2 separate regions of the Homo sapiens genome follow, and region 1 is linked to region 2. Evidence: promoter capture Hi-C in human tissues and cell types (Jung and others, 2019). All regions are on one chromosome and are shown on one strand. The core of a region is centred on a gene start or on the middle of the fragment in contact, and the rest is flanking DNA. Distances in the headings are between cores, read along the strand shown. Region 1 overlaps LOC101929710 (a long non-coding RNA gene). Region 2 holds the start of PCSK1 (proprotein convertase subtilisin/kexin type 1).

The links. The method cuts DNA at HindIII sites, captures the fragments that hold promoters and counts their contacts. A contact is called where the count stands out against the background at its distance.
Region 1: a fragment that was not itself captured here is called in contact with the fragment with the promoter of PCSK1 in region 2 in 1 of the 25 tissues and cell types used here (pancreas).

The regions. Positions count from the first base shown.
Region 1 is chr5:96,368,085-96,372,614 of GRCh38, reverse strand. All of the region lies in intron 3 of LOC101929710 (a long non-coding RNA gene), which reads right to left. It also overlaps a transcript of CAST not described here. Among named protein-coding and RNA genes, the nearest start is that of PCSK1, 63 kb to the left of the region's middle. The HindIII fragment of the contact is 8,912 bases long and covers 1-4,530 here.
Region 2 is chr5:96,430,551-96,434,818 of GRCh38, reverse strand. PCSK1 (proprotein convertase subtilisin/kexin type 1) reads left to right here and starts at 1,571. Exons shown (of 14, transcript NM_000439.5): 1 at 1,571-1,956. The coding sequence starts at 1,777. All of the region lies in intron 4 of LOC101929710 (a long non-coding RNA gene), which reads right to left. It also overlaps a transcript of CAST not described here and the pseudogene LOC102724070. RefSeq lists silencers at 419-538, 400-694. The HindIII fragment of the contact is 6,406 bases long and covers 1-2,384 here.

The sequences.
Region 1 (4,530 bases), core at 1-2,500, 62 kb after region 2:
TGGCTATTCCTCAACTCTGGGATCAGGCTTGCTTGTTCTCTGCCTAAGTCCCATGGTATTACATTTATGACCAATGCAGCAGTCCCTGGTGGGTCTGGCCTCCCTAGAAATATTCAGCTCTTTCCCTGGGCCAATGGGTTCCAAATTTCCAAAGTCCTCCTCCTGCAGGTTCTCATGTCTTCCGAGGGCAACCACCATGATGATATCCATTGGCTAGAAGAGCCACCCCTGGCCAAGGTCTGGCAAAATACTGAAGGTCATGGGTATAACTTATATGTAATCAGATTCATGGGCAAAAGAAAAACAAATAAAGGACTGAAGAACAGAGTTCTCAGGAATTTTTTCCAAAATGGAATTTAAAAGGGTGAGGTATATAGCAAGGAACACTGAAGGAGCCACCTGATATTTAACAAACTGTGTTGTAGCAGCCCATAAACCTGGGTTCCAATCCTAGCCATTCTATTTACTACCTGTGAGAACTTACTTAAACTCTGAGAGCTTCAATTTTTCCCATTTCCAAAATTGGGGTGAACGTTGCTTCATGTAATTTACAGGAGAAAACAAATGCACAGCATTTCTGCACAATATTGGTACTTAATAAATGTTAGTTTAAAAAAACAAAGTTAATCAAGGGCAAATTATTGGAAGGAAAAATCAGAAAGTGAGCTAGAGGAGTTTATATGAATGATAACAAAGGCAGCCTGGTATACTGCCTTAGTATTAGAATATAATGTACTTTTAGCTCTGTAATGGTCATAAATCCTGCTGTGTTTAAGGTTTTTTTCTTCTGTTTGTCTTTGGATTTTTAATCCCATTTTCAGCCTGTAAATCTGGAGTGCTTTTAAAGACCAGTATAGACTGGTTGTCTAGGCTCATGATCAAAATTCCTTTTTCATACTTTCAACCAATGGGTATTTATTGAACACCTACTATGTGCCAGATGGTATGATAGGTAACAAGAACCCAACACCCAGAATGGTTCCTTCTTTCCTGTGATTTACAGTCCAGTGAGTGAAAGAGACAGAGAGCCTCCTAATAGAAGATAATGAAAGGAAAGTTTAATTTTGCACCTTGAGCGTTCAAAATACTTCATCTCCATGTCAGTGACAATAAATGTTTCTGGAAGAAGAAAGGAAGAAAGGTAGAGAGGGCAGGAAGTGTGCTATCAGAAAATAAATGTGAATATGCTAAGCCTCTGCCCCATTCCTCATCAACAGTTGACAGCGATTCAAGTAGAGGTCTCCTCCCCCATGGGCTATCACAGGATTAGTACAGCATCTACATGAGGTGGGGAGCTTATTGACTAGCCCTGTTAATGATGACCTTTCTGGAAACTTTTCCAGAACTTGAGTTTTTTAATGCTTTGGCACAATAATGCTTTATCAGCCTTCCTACATAATGAGCTATGGAAATGAGCCAACCATAGAAAAGTGACTCCATTTACTTAGTTCCATGCTACAGATGGCCTAGTGAACACTATGAGCTAATGGAAAACTAACAAATGCTGGTCCAGGTCAACAGCTGTTTCCTTTGTAACTGGGGTCTGCAAGACACAGGTGTATTTCATGGGCCCTTATGTAGACTACCATCTGCTAACGGATGTTCTTCATTTCCTTTAAATGTAAAGATAGGTACCCGGAATTGGAAGTGTGAATGAGTGTATTGTGGACATTAACTTGGCTTCATTTAGGTCTACATAGTTGGGGAGCTCTCCAATTTGAGTTATATCATAAACAGGTGAATCCCTAAGACAGCACCTCAAGTTTACTCACAGTTTCTCTACGGGCAAAATAGGAATTAGATGTGCTTTCTTCTATTGTTTTGCTTGTGGATTTGCTTTACATGTTTTCTCATAATTCCACCACATCAGGTCTCTCTGAAGCAACAGTTGCACAGTGTAGTCCAAGCAGGCAGGCTAGGCACTTACAATCCAAACTCTTCCTATCCCTACCGTGAATATGAAGAGAGCTGGAATAAAGCAACAGTACTGTTGACTTCCAGGCCTACCCCTTACTGTGAATCAGTGCTGCTATGCCTGTGAATTTCAGTTTTCTGTGTATACAGGTTGGATGCAGTTGTGGGGGGTGAAAATTAAAGAACCAGTCTGGCCCTGAAGGGGTGTTTGGCAGCTCCATGTTGCTCTTTAGTTTATGAGGTTCCATATTGCATATTGTCCTCAGTTTGGGACGCTTAAAGTTTCAAGAAAGTAAGAACAATTTCATTCACTACCCTGTTACAGCTGCTTGCTTCTTTTTTGTCTCTCTTACTCCTAGAAATACCCAGAAGTCTATTACAGTCGCTGTTTCATCCCCAGAATCTCTAACAGTGCCTGGTACATACAAAATTCTGGTCCTGGTTCTACTACAGTACTGCCTAATATTGTGTAATCTTAGGCAAGTCAGCAAGACATTTAACTTCTCTGAGTTTGTATTTCTCCATTTACTATTTTTTAAATTAATTATATATAATAAACTATAAAATATATTAATACCTCCTATAATGAGTTTCATATCACAAGGAAAATGGTGATAATCCTTAGCCATTCAGATCCTCTTTTATTCAGTTTGAAATGTAAGAGATTTCCATTTTGAAGTTCAAAACCAGATGAATAGCAGAAATTTCATATTATTTAACCTAAGTCATGACATACATTTTTATTGAGCAGCTACTATGTGCAAAGCATAGCTGTCAGACATTGGGGATACAACAGTGAAGAAAAATAAAACTTGTTATTATTGACTTTACATTCTAATTGAAGACAAAAATAGACTAAGAGATGAAAATATAGTGGGTCATGCAGTGAAGAGAGCTTAGAAGGAAAATAAAACGGAATAAAGAGACAAAGAGTCACTTGAGGGGAGGAGTGGCATACTAAAACAAGGAGAATTGAGTAAAATGTACCTACTGAATGTTGAGACTCTCAGCCACATTTCCTTACTTGGATTTCAGATTTTTGGCAGCTGTGTAATTAAATATCAGAAAGGAGATTAAAAGGTCTTCTCATATTCTTCTACGATCATCTTCCCAAGAGAAAAGATCTAAAGGAATTACCTTTGGCTTTCATTTAACAAAACAACCAGCCAGATCACGTCAGAGTGAATTTTTGCCACACAGCTTCTGAGAAAGCTTTTTGGTCCTCCATAGTTAAATACCAAGAGGCAGCTAAGGGCTGCCAGACCTTCTTCTAAACTTCAGCCATGAATCTGAAGGTTAGAAGACAAAGCCAACAAGCAAAAACAGTAACTTAGAAGAAACAAAGATTTCACAAGGAGAAGAAAACTTCAAAAATGTTTGATATTTTCAGAGACAGAAGAGAAGAAATACTTATAGATATTAAAAAGCTAATTTGGAGAATAAAAAATGAAAAACTCATAAAGAGATTTATGTAATAATCCATCAAGAACTAAGTAAAATTTATTTAAAAGAAAATTAAATAAATATACGAGAAATCAGAAATAGAAAAAATATATAAAATATATAGATAAAAACGCAATATAAGGTCAACATCCAAATAGTAAAAGTCCAAAAAAGAGATATAGAATATTGAGGGTGCATGGATGAAATAATCATTAAATAATTGAAGCGATTATTGAGAAATCATTGTAAAGTTTCAGAATTCTAACCACAAAGAAAAGATCACTTTCAAATGGGTGAGAAAACAGGTTTCATGCAACAGCAATACCAAGCTTTAGGAACAAAATGGAGTAACACTTTCTAAATACTAAGAGAAATTCTTTCCAGGTTTAAATTTCTTACCTAGCCAATTAAGGGTGTGGGTAGAAGGAAATTATTTTTAGACAAGCAAGATTTCAAAAACATTACTTTGCAAAACTTTTCAGAAAAGTAATAGAATAGATATTCTCTCAATATGAAGGAGCAATTCAAGAAAACATAGGATCCAAGGAACAGGAGCTTGTTAAGAGAGAAAACAAGAATCCCAGAGAGATAGTGGACAGAAATACCAAGCTCACAGCTCTGCAGCAGGCTGAGAGATCAGCCACTTCCTACTGGAGCGAATCAGAAGGCTCCAAGAGGAAGAACTGAATGTGTCTGAGATTTACACATGTGGAGTTTGAGAATAATTCTATAGGTTTTTTTGTTTTTTTTTTTTTTTAGATGGAGTTTCACTCTTGTTGCCCCAGGCTAGAGTGTAATGGTGCAATTTTGGCTCACTGCAACCTCCAACTCCTGGGTTCAAAGGATTCTCCTGCCTCAGCCTCCTGAGTAGTTGGGATTACAGGCATGTGTCACCATGCCCGGCTAATTTTTGTATTTTTAGTAGAGACGGGGTTTCACCATGTTGGCCAGGCTGGTCTCGAACTCCTGACCTAAGGTGATCCACCCGCATTGGCCACCCAAAGTGCTGGTATTACAGGAGTGAGCTATCGTGCCCAGCCAATTCTATAGAAATTCAAACAATTTTTAAAAATTGGTAATTAGTAACTCCAAGGAAAAGCAGAAAGGAAAGGGAAGGGAAGGAAAGGAAAGGGGAAAAAAAAGAAAAGTAATTAAAGGATACTATAAGGTTCA
Region 2 (4,268 bases), core at 322-2,821:
AGGCAAATGAAAAATTAGCACTACAGAGCCTGATCCTCCACCAAGTCTTGTCTCATTTGCTTCTTGTAAGGAACATCTCTTGCTTCCTTTCTCCACTTGTTTATATGCTTTCTTTCCAACCTTCTCCCCTTTCTTCTATTTCTACAGCATAGATCGCGCCCTCGGGCGGTTGAGCTTTAAAAAACAACAACAACAACAACAAAAAAAAAAACAAACTTCCCAGGTGCAGCATACTCTCTCAATTCCACCTCCCGGCGATTTTACTTTTGGCCTGAGTCCAACACGTTCCCAAGAGCTGGACACAAGTTGTCACGATCATGAACCTAACCACACTCCCCCCTGCGGCCAATTTCCTATTTTGCTGTTCAAAAGAGGGAAATGCACATATCAAAAGGAAAACAGCTTGGTGCTGGCCAGCTGCAGAAGGGTGGAGGTCTTTGGTGCTCAGAAGAGAGAGCAGCTCCTGCGGCAGTCCTGCGTGTGTCGCTGTCCAGACCTCGGTGCTGAATACTAGGCACTGGTATCTCCCGCCAGGTTCAATCCCTCAGGGTTCGAATAGGCTCCACCATGGGAGACTGAACTCACTTCCCTAGGGTGAGGGGTGGAGAATTCATTTAGATGTTTCCTTGCTCTCCTCCCACAGGAAACCATTTTTCCACAAAGAGGCATTGTGCATTTTATGGGAAAGTAATGGCACAGCTCCAGCTCAGCACCAAAGTGAAGAGCTCTACTGAGGCACAATGGAAAGTCGAGGTAAATAAAAACTGCTCTTTCCCTCCCTGAATCAACACAACAGCTTTTGGGATCCTAGATCCCCTTGTTGACGAATTCTTAAAAATATGTTTTTTTAAAATCACATGATTAATCATTTTACTGATAAACACCCTAAAAGGTGGTGGTGGCGCTGGCTTTGCAATATCGGAGTATAACTACTGATATTGTTTTACTGAGGTTGAGAAACAAAGGGGAGGAGGGAAGTAAACTTGTAAACTAAGGTGGCTTGAATGGTTAAAAATTCATTTTTAATAGTATTGCTTTAACATAGACATGCTAATTTTCTCAGACAATTTAGAACAGAATTGGGACAGTAGTAGCTTCCCTTCTTCTCCTTACTCTCCTAGCCTCTCTCTTTGAAAGACCTAAGAGCCTTGTTCTTCATAGCAGGTGCTGATGCCCAAAGGGCCATTATAAGAATCCTATAGCCTCCCCCCCTCCCCGCCACACACATGAGATAATAAAGTAAATACAGAGAAAATGGATGGAAGGGAGGGAAAGCACTCCCAGCCTTTGATTCTTGGTAGTTATGTTCAAGTGGGGCACTTCTCTTTGAAAAGTGAAAATGTTTCTCACGGTACAGAATTTATGGGCAGACAAGGAGCAGACTTAACTGATCCCAGCAAACAGTTCCTTCCTTTTCCTAATCCCTGGCTGCTTATTTTAGCCGCTTCTCCGCCCCGCCGGGAATACCATTCGGATCTTAGTCCAGGTAGATCTGACGTCAAGAGATGGCTTTCGTCGATTTGACGTGTAAACACTCATTTCCATTCTGGCTGGGAAGGGCTGGGGCTCCACTCAGCCTGGAGACCGAAGCGCTTCACTGAGCGCTCGCCGCCGCCCAGCCTCTCCTCTCGCGCCTCCTAGCTCTTCGCAGAGCAACCAGGAGCCAGGAGTGGTCTAGAGCCCGAGGGTGGGAAGGGGGAGTCTGTCTGGCTTTTCTCCTATCTTGCTTCTTTTTCCTCTTCCCTTCCCACTCTTGTTCAAGCGAGTGTGTGAGCTATGGAGCGAAGAGCCTGGAGTCTGCAGTGCACTGCTTTCGTCCTCTTTTGCGCTTGGTGTGCACTGAACAGTGCAAAAGCGAAAAGGCAATTTGTCAATGAATGGGCAGCGGAGATCCCCGGGGGCCCGGAAGCAGCCTCGGCCATCGCCGAGGAGCTGGGCTATGACCTTTTGGGTCAGGTAAGAGTTTCCACTTTCAAGAAACTTTCTGGGGCCCCAGGGGACTGGCGGGACTGGAGCGCGGTCTTCCAAGTGGGAGCCCCAGGTTGCACTCTCCAGAGCCCAGAGTAGCAAAGAGCAAGGAGCTGCTCCAGCCCTCGCCCCTGTCGCGCTTGGAGAGAGAGAAAGCTTGCATTATTTACTGTTTAGGCTGGGCGCAGCCAAGCAGAAGGAAGCCGCTGCAGCTGGGTAGGGCTTATGCTTACTGTTGGCCGCTCTAGAATTGAAATCCGTTCCCGCGCGGTTTGGAAGAAAAATCCCTCCACGCTTGTTCAGGGAACTTGAGATACACTCAAGCTCTTACCAACCAAGCGCCCCCGGGAGAAGCAGTGCGCTCCATCCCCCGGGACTGAGGCGGTCTGCGTCAGGAGCCGGCTGTTGCCTTCTTTTCAATATGGCAGCATCAGATCCAAGTCCTGATGCAAGGGGCTAAGCAGGCTTGGGGCTGTCCGCCCTGGCAGCCTGTAAGGGCACGCCCAGGGCATTGGAAGAGTGCCAGCTGCTGGGACTCGCGACCAGGAGGTTGGGAGGCCGCGGAGTAGCCTGGGAAGCTGGGGGGAGAAATGGTGGGTGAAAGACACGGGACCATCTATCCCCGCGACTCTCTAGGGAGCTCCGGCTTTTCACTGGGAACTTATAAAGTCCAAGCTTCATAACTTTGCCCGGCCAGTCCCACTGCAGGGTCGAGATGCCGAACTGACTATGGGGAAGGGATCTATTTCTTTCTTGTTCTTCAGCCAAGTACGTAATCGTTTTCCCGGGAATTTCAGCTTATTGTTGCCTGTCCAAGTGAAGGCTTGGTCGATAGGTAGCTGGTTGGAGGTGGGTGGGCGTCAAGACATTAAGTGGGAGACTGCTTATAGCTGAGCGATTCCGAGGGGACCCTAGGGAGTGTGACTTCTAGTCTAGAGCTTTCCTTTCCTTGGCTCGGAATCAAGCCCTCGCCCCCTGCTTGGGAAGTTGGTCTGCATTGAAGCGTGGGAGGAGGCAGTTGTAAAACATTTTGGCGCGTTTTTTCTGGAGGTGGTGGTTGAGACGCCGCTGGAGTCACGGATGAGTAATCGGCGGGGGCGTTGGCGATTCTGTAGACCGAACCCTCTGGGGAATTCGCCTGCTCTTGCTAGAGGCTTCATTCTCAACTTTATAAACCAAATTGTCTTTGAAATGCCCGAAAGGAAAATCAATGCAGATTGGCTTCCTGGTGTCCCAGCAGCAGATGAGTCTTTTGCTTTTGGCCAGCCCTTGCCCTCGTGCCAGGCTCCGTGTTAGGGGCTGAGGAATAAGAGGAGGGAAAGAAACGCTCTCAAGTAATCAAGAATCTAGAGGAGACTAGCTTAGAGATAAATGATTGCAACTGATTGTAATTTGTGTAATCATAGAAGTTGTACTTGAAGTCTCAATATTCATTGGTTGAAGGAATGAAAGTAGTAGGGAATTCGGGAGGGGTGAATGAAAACTGCCCAAAGGAGAAAACATTTGCTCCGGGAACAGAAGTCAAAGGTTGCCAGGAGCACATAATGAGATCGGAGAAGACAGTCTAGGCATAGAAAACAGCTTGTGGGAAAACAGTGAGACATAATACAGTTTAGTAGTAAGTCTGGGAATTGCACGCAATTATTAGGAATTTTTGAGACCCAAAGAGGGTATGAGTAGCAGAGGAAATTGTGCTGGTGGGTACTGTGGACATCATACAAATCATGTATGACCTATGGGGGTGGACACTGGGGATTTAATTGTGTATTCCTTGAGCAGCTACTGAAAGGCTAAATAGCACTGGTAACCGTGTAGGAGGAGACTGGGGAAGACAGCAAAAACTAAATCTCTCTTCTTTTTCCCACCTGTTAGCTCTAGGCATGCATCTAAACCTAGACCATTCAATGTGAAAACTGCTTTTCAAAATAAATAAACATAAATCTTAATAGTAAAAAACAATACATCATCATTCTTGGGAGGATCTTTGAGTAAGGGATAGCATAGTCACAAAAGCATTAACAAATAGTGGGGGAAAACCATCTATATTTATATATGATTTACAATACTATCTTTCCTCTAACCATTTTTAGTTAAGATGGCATTACTAACAAAAGTTTTAAAACAAACTTAACAAAATTATTTTATTAGAATAATAATTCTTTGTAGAAGGCTGATAGCACGTTCCTGGTTCTGCTTATTTCTCTTTTTGTTTAATATTACTAAAATTACACTAATTTAGCATTACTATATTGGGTACCTTATTGCCTCAGGATAAAGCTTGGATTAAGGTAGTGACAAGA